Linked DNA regions of Homo sapiens: region 2 is linked to region 1. The links are contacts of gene promoters, found by promoter capture Hi-C in blood cells and fetal thymus (Javierre and others, 2016). All regions are on one chromosome and are shown on one strand. Each heading gives the region's core, a stretch centred on a gene start or on the middle of the fragment in contact. The rest is flanking DNA. Distances are from core to core; before and after follow the strand shown.

What was found. Contacts are between HindIII fragments. The CHiCAGO score rates a contact against its expected background, and 5 or more counts as called.
Region 2: a fragment that was not itself captured here is called in contact with the fragment with the promoter of PCOLCE in region 1 in 1 of 17 cell types (erythroblasts); the score reaches 5.6 in erythroblasts.

What each region holds. Positions count from the first base shown.
Region 1 is chr7:100,599,837-100,604,418 of GRCh38, forward strand. It overlaps PCOLCE (procollagen C-endopeptidase enhancer), which reads left to right and starts at 2,527. Exons shown (of 9, transcript NM_002593.4): 1 at 2,527-2,715; 2 at 3,594-3,702; 3 at 4,123-4,381. The coding sequence starts at 2,621. It overlaps FBXO24 (F-box protein 24), which reads left to right. Exons shown (of 10, transcript NM_033506.3): 9 at 195-365; 10 at 698-1,281. The coding sequence ends at 1,063. PCOLCE-AS1 (PCOLCE antisense RNA 1) reads right to left here and starts at 4,202. Exons shown (of 9, transcript NR_038910.1): 1 at 4,002-4,202; 2 at 2,504-3,330; 3 at 1,784-1,847; 4 at 887-1,016; 5 at 204-353. RefSeq lists an enhancer at 3,636-4,428 and a silencer at 4,436-4,582. The HindIII fragment of the contact is 14,893 bases long and covers 1,620-4,582 here.
Region 2 is chr7:100,453,185-100,457,921 of GRCh38, forward strand. It overlaps TSC22D4-C7ORF61 (TSC22D4-C7orf61 readthrough), which reads right to left. Exons shown (of 6, transcript NM_001395846.1): 6 at 3,436-3,801. The coding sequence ends at 3,568. It overlaps SPACDR (sperm acrosome developmental regulator), which reads right to left. Exons shown (of 3, transcript NM_001004323.3): 3 at 3,436-3,801. The coding sequence ends at 3,568. Among named protein-coding and RNA genes, the nearest start is that of SPACDR, 8.7 kb to the right of the region's middle. RefSeq lists a silencer at 3,918-4,080. The HindIII fragment of the contact is 8,422 bases long and covers 1-4,737 here.

The DNA of each region.
Region 1 (4,582 bases), core at 1,277-3,776:
AGACCCTATGTGACCAGTTAGAGTATGGGGGCTGCAGGGGTCAGCAGGGCAGACCTGGGGCGTGGGACAGTGCTGGCTCCCATTTCCTCCTCCCCAGTTCATTCTGCCCCGAGCCTTCCAGTCAACCTTTTCCCACCCCAGCCCCCCCGTCCCTTGGTGCTCCCTGCTCAGGGACCCTGGCCGTGTGTCCCCAGGTTTGTTACCTGCAGCGGCCCATCACCCTGTGGTGCGGCCTCAACCACTCCCTGGTGCTGAGCCAGAGCTCAGAGTTCAGCAAGGAGCTGCTGGGCTGCGGCTGTGGGGCTGGGGGCCGCCTCCCAGGCTGGCCCAAGGGGAGTGCCTCCTTCGTCAAGCTCCAAGTCAAGGTCAGAGCGGGGTCAGGAGAGTGGGCACCCAGGGAGGATGAGAGCCATGAACCAGGAAGCCCACAGGCTGTAGCTGGGGCTCCTGCAGGGACCCAGGGGGTCCCATTTCCCTAGCACCACCCCACCTCCCTCCTCTGCCGCACACCACGCTCTCTGCTTTCTCCCTTAGCAGACTGTGCTGGCCTTGCCCAACCTCACACACCCCTGGGACTTAGCCGGCTCAGGGCTGGTGTGAGAGGGAAGAATGCAATAGGCAGATTAGCCCGGGCACCCTGGGAAACCCTGCAAGGAAAGCACCACTCAGCCATGCCCCCTTTCTCTCCTCCTCCAAGGTCCCTCTGTGTGCCTGTGCCCTCTGTGCCACCAGGGAGTGCCTATACATCCTGTCCAGCCACGACATTGAGCAGCACGCCCCCTATCGCCACCTGCCAGCCAGCAGGGTGGTGGGGACTCCTGAGCCCAGCCTGGGGGCCAGAGCACCCCAGGACCCCGGGGGGATGGCCCAGGCCTGCGAGGAGTACCTCAGCCAGATCCACAGTTGCCAAACGTTGCAGGACCGCACGGAGAAGATGAAGGAGATCGTAGGGTGGATGCCCCTGATGGCCGCACAGAAGGACTTCTTCTGGGAGGCCCTGGACATGCTGCAGAGGGCTGAAGGAGGCGGGGGTGGTGTAGGGCCCCCAGCCCCTGAGACCTAATCCCCCTCATGCTAGCCTAGTCCCTGGAGGAGGGAGTCCGGCCCCAGGCCAGGGACTAAGGAGCAATGACCATTGTGCACATGCGTGTGGGAAGGGGTTGCTAGGGGGTGGGGACGGCTAACCAGGGTAAGAATGTTCAGGGGGCTGCCCAGGAGGGGCCCCCAACCTGACTATCATGGACAAGAGATTTGATGGATAGAATAAAAGGCTGCAGCGAGGCCTGGTGTGGAAGCCTTGGGGGCTGGGAGGGACAGGGGCAGGGATGGGGTGGGTGGGTGCCCGGCTTGGTGGGTGCAGGAGGGCAGGAGCCCAGGCAGGGGCAGGCAGCACAAGCAGCTCCAGGTCTCAGGTGCAGCAGAGCTGATGCTGCCTGAACCCTTCACATTGTTGTCCACTCCCTGCTCCCAAGAGCACACCTGGTCGTTTGGACTGGGAAGTTCTGGCCCTACCTTCTGGAACAACTCTATGCACAGATGCTCTTGGCTACCCCACTGGGATCCCCTGCCCACTAGACTTGTCCCCATCCTGAGGCAGCCTGTTCCTCCTGACCCCCGAAAGCTTCCCACCCATCTCCCTTCGGCCTGAAGCCAGCCCCCCTCCTCTCTCCCTTCTGTTTACCTCCCAGGTTTGGGCTCTATTTTCTACTCCTTCCACCTCTTCCTGAGTAACAAGGACACTCCCTTCATCCACACCCCATGCCTCCTGCCTTGCTTCCTGTACCTTCAAGTAGTTGGAAGAGGTCATGGGTGAGAATTCCTTCTCCTTGGCCTAGTCTGGCCCAGGTCTGGAGAGAAGGCAATGGAGATGTGAAGTGGAGGCCAGGTGTGGTGGCTACGCCTATAATCCCAGCACTTTGGGAGTCCGAGGTGGGCGGATCACCTGAGGCTAGGAATTTGAGACCAGCCTGGACAGCATGCTGAAACCCTGCCTCTACTAAAAATACAAAAATTAGCCAGGTGTGGAGGCATGCACCTGCAGTCCCAGCTACTCGGGAGGCTAAGGCACAAGAATTGCTTGAACCCGGGAGGCGGAGGTTGCAGTGAGCAGAGATCGCGCCACTGCACTCCAGCCTGGGTCACAGAATGAGACTCTGTCTCAAAAAAAAAAAAAAAAAAAAAAAGAAATTGAAGTGGAAAATGAGCTGGCAGGGGTGGTCAGGCAGGGGGTGAGCAATGAGGGCTCCTGAGCTGAGGAAGCAGGGGCGGGGGGAGGATGGGGGCTAGGGAGTCCTCAGAAGTTCCCGGAGATACTCCCTCACTGGACAGAGTGGGGTTCCCGATGACGTTACTTGAGGCCTGGGAGACGGCCTCTGCCCCTCACTGCTCCTCCCCCTCCTAAGGTCAACATTTATGTGTCCTAGACCTAGAGAGGTCCCAGGACACGCCACTGTCCCGCCTTCCCCATTGCCCGCCCCACTGGCCAGTCCCCACGCCCACACACCCAAGGCTGCCCCATCTGGCGCTGATTATCCTGCTGCTGCCGCCACCGCTGCTGCTGCTCTGCAAAATTCAGCTGCTGCCTCTGTCTTGAGGACCCCAGCGCCTTTCCCCCGGGGCCATGCTGCCTGCAGCCACAGCCTCCCTCCTGGGGCCCCTCCTCACTGCCTGCGCCCTGCTGCCTTTTGCCCAGGGCCAGACCCCCAACTACACCAGGTAGGTCTCTTGGCATCTTCCAGACAGCTCCAGTGAACTTCAGACCCCCGATTCCTTTGGGGTTATGCCTGGAGATATTTTGGGTTCCCTTGCTGACACACCACTCCCCAGATTCCCCACCGCCTCACCCTTCTCTGGCCCCCAAATCCTCCCCATCTGCTGCAAGACCTTGGTCTCCTGCAGGCCACCACTGCTCCCATTCCCCCACCTTCGTCCTCTGGTCTCTTAAGTCTCCCCACCCACCCAGATCCTTGACCCCCCATAGAACCCAAGAGAGAGCCAAGCTCCTGAACTTGCCTGGTAGCTGGATTCCAGGAAGGAATTCGAGAGGGATTGTAGGGGGAGGAGGGGGCAGTGAGTGGAGACTTGGGAGTCAGAATCTGAAGTAGTTTGGAACAGGGGCAGGGCTAAGGTGTGGAGCTCGCGGAGCCTGGCCTCCAGGTTCAATCAGAGGGCCATCGCCACTGCAGCTCCCTCCATCTCTCCACCCCCTCCCCCCCACCGCCTCGTGGCTGTGTCCACATCTGGAAGTAGTTAGGCGGCTCCTGTCCCTGGACTGCCAGGCAGAGTGAGGCGGGAGTCTGGAAGGGGGGCCGAGGAGGATTCCGGGAATTCCTGTTGGGGTGGGGGTGGGGACTCTTGGGGTTGGAGGGATGGTCGAGTTGCCAGGCCCACTTTTCCCTTATCTTTGTGGGAGTCTGGGACACCCCAGCCCTGTCCTGGCTGGTGGAAGCTGCCCCAGGTCTCTCAAGGCCTTTCCATTTCATCCCCCAGCTTCCCTCCTTGGAGTTTCATCCTCATCACCTCATCCCCATCTTGCCAGTGCTCCCCCGTCCCACCCGTCCCTGCTCTTTCCTGACCCCTTTTCTGTTCTCCAGACCCGTGTTCCTGTGCGGAGGGGATGTGAAGGGGGAATCAGGTTACGTGGCAAGTGAGGGGTTCCCCAACCTCTACCCCCCTAATAAGGAGTGCATCTGGACCATAACGGTGAGAAACCCCTCTGGGCACTACCCCTTGTTAAAGTCTCAGAGGCAAAAAGGCCTGACTGCGAAGGGACCCCCCCCCCGTCCCCCCCGCACCACCTTCTCAACCTGGGGCAGCTCCAAGTGTCTTCCCTCTGTCACTGAAGGCATCATTCCCACCGTAACACGCATCATCTTAACCCTTCCCTCAAATCTTCATTCTCCAGTCCCCGGCCCTCCCTCCTCTTCCAAAGCCTCAGCTCTTGTCCCCTGCACAGGCTACCAGCAGAGCTGCAGAGACCAGGCCCTCTGCTCTGCACTCACATGGAGGCCCCTTCCCATTCAGTCCGTTTCTGCAAGAAACGCTTGGGGCAGGGGAGCTGCCCTCTGGCTGGGTTGTGTGGGGCCTGACTCTGTGGGTCCCCGCCTCTGTCCCCGCTATCAGGTCCCCGAGGGCCAGACTGTGTCCCTCTCATTCCGAGTCTTCGACCTGGAGCTGCACCCCGCCTGCCGCTACGATGCTCTGGAGGTCTTCGCTGGGTCTGGGACTTCCGGCCAGCGGCTCGGACGCTTTTGTGGGACCTTCCGGCCTGCGCCCCTAGTCGCCCCCGGCAACCAGGTGACCCTGAGGATGACGACGGATGAGGGCACAGGAGGACGAGGCTTCCTGCTCTGGTACAGCGGGCGGGCCACCTCGGGCACTGGTGAGAACTCCCTCACCTCCGCCTTCCCCCCCTCCAGGCCCCGCCCCGGCCGCAGCCCCGCCCCCAGCCCTAACCTCCGCCCCGCCCACCCCGCGCCCCAGTGCCTAGGGCCCCCTACCTCCCTGACCCATTTTCCTCACTAACCGCCCCTTCAGTCCCTCCTCCCCGTCTTCTCTCCCCTCCTCCCGCACCCACCCATCC
Region 2 (4,737 bases), core at 2,219-4,718, 150 kb before region 1:
GCTAGGGCTACAGGTGCCGGCTACCACGCCCAGCTAATTTTTTGTATTTTTAGTAGAGACGGGGTTTCACCGTGTTAGCCAGGATGGTCTCGATCTCCTGACCTCGTGATCCTCCCACCTCGGCCTCCCAAAGTGCTGGGATTACAGGCGTGAGCCACCATGCCCAGCCAATTTTTGTATTTTTAGTAGAGGGTTTCGTCATGTTAGCCAGGCTGGTCTCGAACTCCTGACGTCAGGTGATCCACCCACCTCAGCCTCCCAAAGTGCTGGGATTACAGGTGTGAGCCACTGTGCCCAGCCATCAAGTCATCATTTTATTTAAGGAGCTTGAGTCTCAGTGAAGGAAAGTGACTCTCAAAAATCACCAAGTGCCTGCGATCCCAGCCCTTTGGGAGGCAGAAGCAGGAGGATTGACCAGGAGATGGAGGCTATAGTGAGCTATGATTGTGCCACTGTCCTCCTGTCTGGCCAACTGAGCGAGACTCTGTCTCAAAAATAAATAAAAAATAAAAATAAGAGTCGTACAGCAAAGTAGTAGCAATATTGAGACTAGGACCAAGGTCTCTTGACTCCGCATCAAGGGCTCCTCCTACTACTTCCTGCACATGGTATTCTTTATCACTTCCAAAATGACATTCCTAGCTGGGTGCAGTGGTTCACACCTGTAATCCCAGCACTTTGGGAGGCCGAGGTAGGAGGATTGCTTGAGGCCAGGAGTTTGAGACCAGACTGGGCAACATAGCTAGAACCCATCGCCACAAATATTAAAAAAGAATTAGCTGGGCATGGTGGCATACACCTGTAGTTTCAGCTATTCGGGAGGCTGTGGTGGGAGGATCGCTTGAGTCCAGGAGTTGGAGGCTGCAGTGAGCCATGATTGCGCCACTGCCCTCCAGCCTGGGCAACAGAGCCAGACCCTGTCTCTAAAAAACAAAAACCACTGGCCGGGTGCAGTGGCTCACGCCTGTAATCCTAGCACTTCGGGGAGCTGAGACAGGTGGATCATCTGAGGTCAGGAGTGCAAGACCAGCCTGGACAACATGGTGAGACCCTGTCTCTACTAAAAATACAAAAGTTAGCCGGGTGTGGCCAGGCGCGGTGGCTCATGCCTGTAATCCCAGCACTTTGGGAGGCCAAGGCAGGCGGATCACGAGGTCAGGAGATCAAGACGATCCTGGCTAACATGGTGAAACCCCGTTCTCTACTAAAAATACGAAAAAAAATTAGCCGGGCGTGGTGGCATGTACCTGTAATCCCAGCTACTCAGGAGGCTGAGGCAGGAGAATGGTGTGAACCCGGGAGGCGGAGCTTGCCGTCAGCGGAGATCATGCCACTGCACTACAGCCTGGGTGACAGAGTGAGACTCTGTCTCAAAAAAAAAAAAAAAAAAACCAAAAAACAAAAACGGTTACATGGGTGTGGTGGCAAGCACCTGTAATCCCAGCTACTCCAGAGGCTGAGGCAGGAGAACCACTTGAACCCCACGGGCGGAGGTTGCAATGAGCCGAGATCACACCACTGCACTCCAGCCTTGGCGATAGAGTGAGACTCCATCTCAAAAAAACACACAAAAAAACTGTCATCAAGAGGCAGCTTCCTTCTGCCCACCCCTTTCCTTCCTCTCCCACAAGTCTGCCTGTGCCTGCTCAGCCAAGCCTAGACAGGGCTCCAGATCTGGGGAAGGAGAGAGTGATGGGATGTGCCTTGGTTGCTGGCTGAACCCACCTTCCTTAATTTCCCTTCCACTCCCAAGAGCTGAAGAAGCCAAAGACAAACGAGAGCAGTATTCCTTTCCACAAGCCCACAGCGTCAAGCCTGGATGAGCTCCTGGGCCTGTAGCTACTTGCAAGGCTATTTTACCAGTGACCCTCAGAGGCCCAGCTTCGTCCTACTCTCCCCTCCCCTCCTCTCACTGAAACCTCAGGTCCCCAGCGATGAGGAGCTCATCTCTAAAGACTCGGAGGGGCTGATCCCGGATGTTAGACAGCTAGGTACTACTCCAAACCTCAGGACCCATTAAATCTCAGGGCTTCCTGGGACTCAGATCCTGCACCAACACCATTCACCCCCAGAAGGGTTCCTGGCAGATAATAGAGACGTGATGAATAATTGGTGATTGAAAACTCCAGACATGAGCTGCTCTTTATTAGTCTGTTTTGAGGCCCCGCCTGAAAACCTGAAAGCAGGCTTTGACTTTAGGCTTCACTCAGGACTGATTCCCAGTGAAGTCACTTAACTCATGTGTTGAACACCTGCTGTGTAACATGTGCAGAATGAAAGCTACATGACCTTTCTTTTCTCTTTCTTTTTTTTTTTTTTTCTGAGATAGAGTCTCACTCTGTTGCCCAGGCTGGAGTGCACTGGTGCAATCTCACCTCATTGCAACCTCTGCCTCCCGGGTTCAAATTATTCTGTCTCAGCCTCCCAAGTAGCTGGGATTATAGACACATGCCACCACACCCAGCTAATTTTTTGTATTTTTAGTAGAAACGGGGTTTCACCATGTGAAAAAGATGTTTTAAGAGATAAGGTCTTGTTATGTTGCCCAGGCTGGTCTCAAACTCCTGAGCTCAAGCAATCCTCCCGCCTCAGTCTCCCAAGGTGCTGGGATTATAGGCATGAGTCACCGTGCCCGGCCTTGCTGTTGCTTTTGTGAAACAACCCTGCTTTTTCCTGGAGAGCCACCTCTGCACCTTCATGTGGCTTGGCTACTCCGAGAGGGGACCTGAGGCTGCTGGGTCTCCCTTCTTGTTGTCTCCGTTGCCCTCCAACCTCCTTCCAAATTGCCACAGCCTCCCTCTAGGTCCTTATTCCCACGGTGCCAGGCCAAATCCCTCACCCAGCTCCTAGGCTGCAGCCTTCACCCGGCCCTGCCGTGAGCATGGTCCCTGTAGAGCCCCCTGGAGGTGTAGTTTCAGCTCTTGGTGAGGCGCGGGCAGCAGGCAGCGGGGCTGGAGTTCCTTCACAGCACGTGGATGCATCTCCCACAGCCCCCATGTGCGTCTGCAGACGCACAACTCTCCACAGCCAAGCCCATGGCAAAGCCCTTCAGCACCAGAGAGGCAGGGTAGTGGGCTACCCCTGGGAGCTGGCAGTTTCCAGCAAGGCCTCCTTTGCTGAGCCTTGGACAAGTCCCGTAATCCACCCTAAATACCTTTCTTGTAGGATCGCTAAGGACAGCAGCTGACGGGACTGGGTCCTTGGTGAATGGCAGCTGTTACCGTCCTTATAAGGAAAGGTGGAGTTACAAACAGGCATTTTGGCCCCAAGAAGGGGGTGGGACCCAGAGCAGAAACGTGCTGACCATGCTTCCCCCCAAATAGACCCACAGGTGACCCCTACTGGGATTTAGGCCCTCACCTTAGGGGTCTCTCCCTGACCCACCCAAACTCCTCTCATCCCCTCCCGCCGTCCACAAACACACTCCATACTGACTCAGAACTATCTGATATTTATTTCCCAATATTTTGATACTTGTTTTACAACTGGAATACATGGAATGAAGGGGCTGATATGGGACCCCAGGTAAGAGTGAGGTCAGGACTCTCTAAGGGTCTGGGGTTCCCCCTAGAGGGGACTTTGGGCATCCAGTTTCAGGGACTGAGCCGGGTTGGGTCGGGGGGCAGCATGGCATCGGACGTGGTGCCGTCTGTGCCTCTCCTGCCTGCGGTACAGCCGGCGCAGGTGTTTCCGAACGGCCCACAGCACCAGGTACACCTCCCACAGCAACTCAGCCTCCGGAGTCTTCAAAGGTGACTGCGTCCTCACTTGGGAGCTGACTGAGGCAGAACTCACTGATGACTGTAAGAGAAAGAGAAGATGTGCATGCGTAAATAGCTGGGTCTAGGGAGAAACTGCCGCTAGAACGACCCATAGATAAACAGCAAAGGGCTCCCTGATTCCACCTCTCCCATCAGCCCAACTCATACATCACCTCCTCCAGAAAGCCTTCTCAGGTTGCATCAAATGTTTGTCATTTCTATCCTTTTTTTTTTTTTTAATGAGACGGGGTCTTGCTATGTTGCCCAGGCTGGTCTCGAACTCCTGGGCTCAAGAGATCTTCCTGCCTTGGCTTCCCAAAGTGTTGGGGATTACAGGCGTGAGGCATCACACCTGGCCCATCAGTTCTATTCTTCTTTTTTTTGTTGTTTTGAGATGGAGTCTTGCTCTATCACCCAGGCTGGAGTACAGTGGCATGATCTCAGCTCACTGCATCCTCCACCTCCTGGGTTTAAGCGATTCTTCTGCCTCAGGCTCCTGAGTAGCTGGGATTACAGGTGCTCGCTATCACGCCCAGCTAATTTTTGTAGTTTTAGTAGAGAAGGGGTTTCACCATGTTGGCCAGGCTGGTCTCGAACTCCTGACCTCAAGTGATCAGCCGGCCTCGGCCTCCCAAAGTGCTGGGATTACAGGCGTGAGCCACCATGCCTGGCCTTTTTTTTTTTTTTTTTTTTGAGACAAGGTCTCACTCTGTCACCCAGGCTGGAGTGCAGTGGCATAATCTCAGCTCACTGCAACCTCCACCTCCCAAGTTCAAGTGATGCTCCCACCTCAGCCTCCTGAGTAGCTGGGACTACAGTCGTGCACCACCATGCCCGGCTAACTTTTATATATATATATGTGTGTGTGTGTGTGTGTGTGTGTGTGTGTGTGTGTGTATATATATATATATATTTTTTTTTTTTTTTGTAGAAATGGGGTTTTGCCCAGGCTGGTCTTGAACTCCTGAGCTCAAGT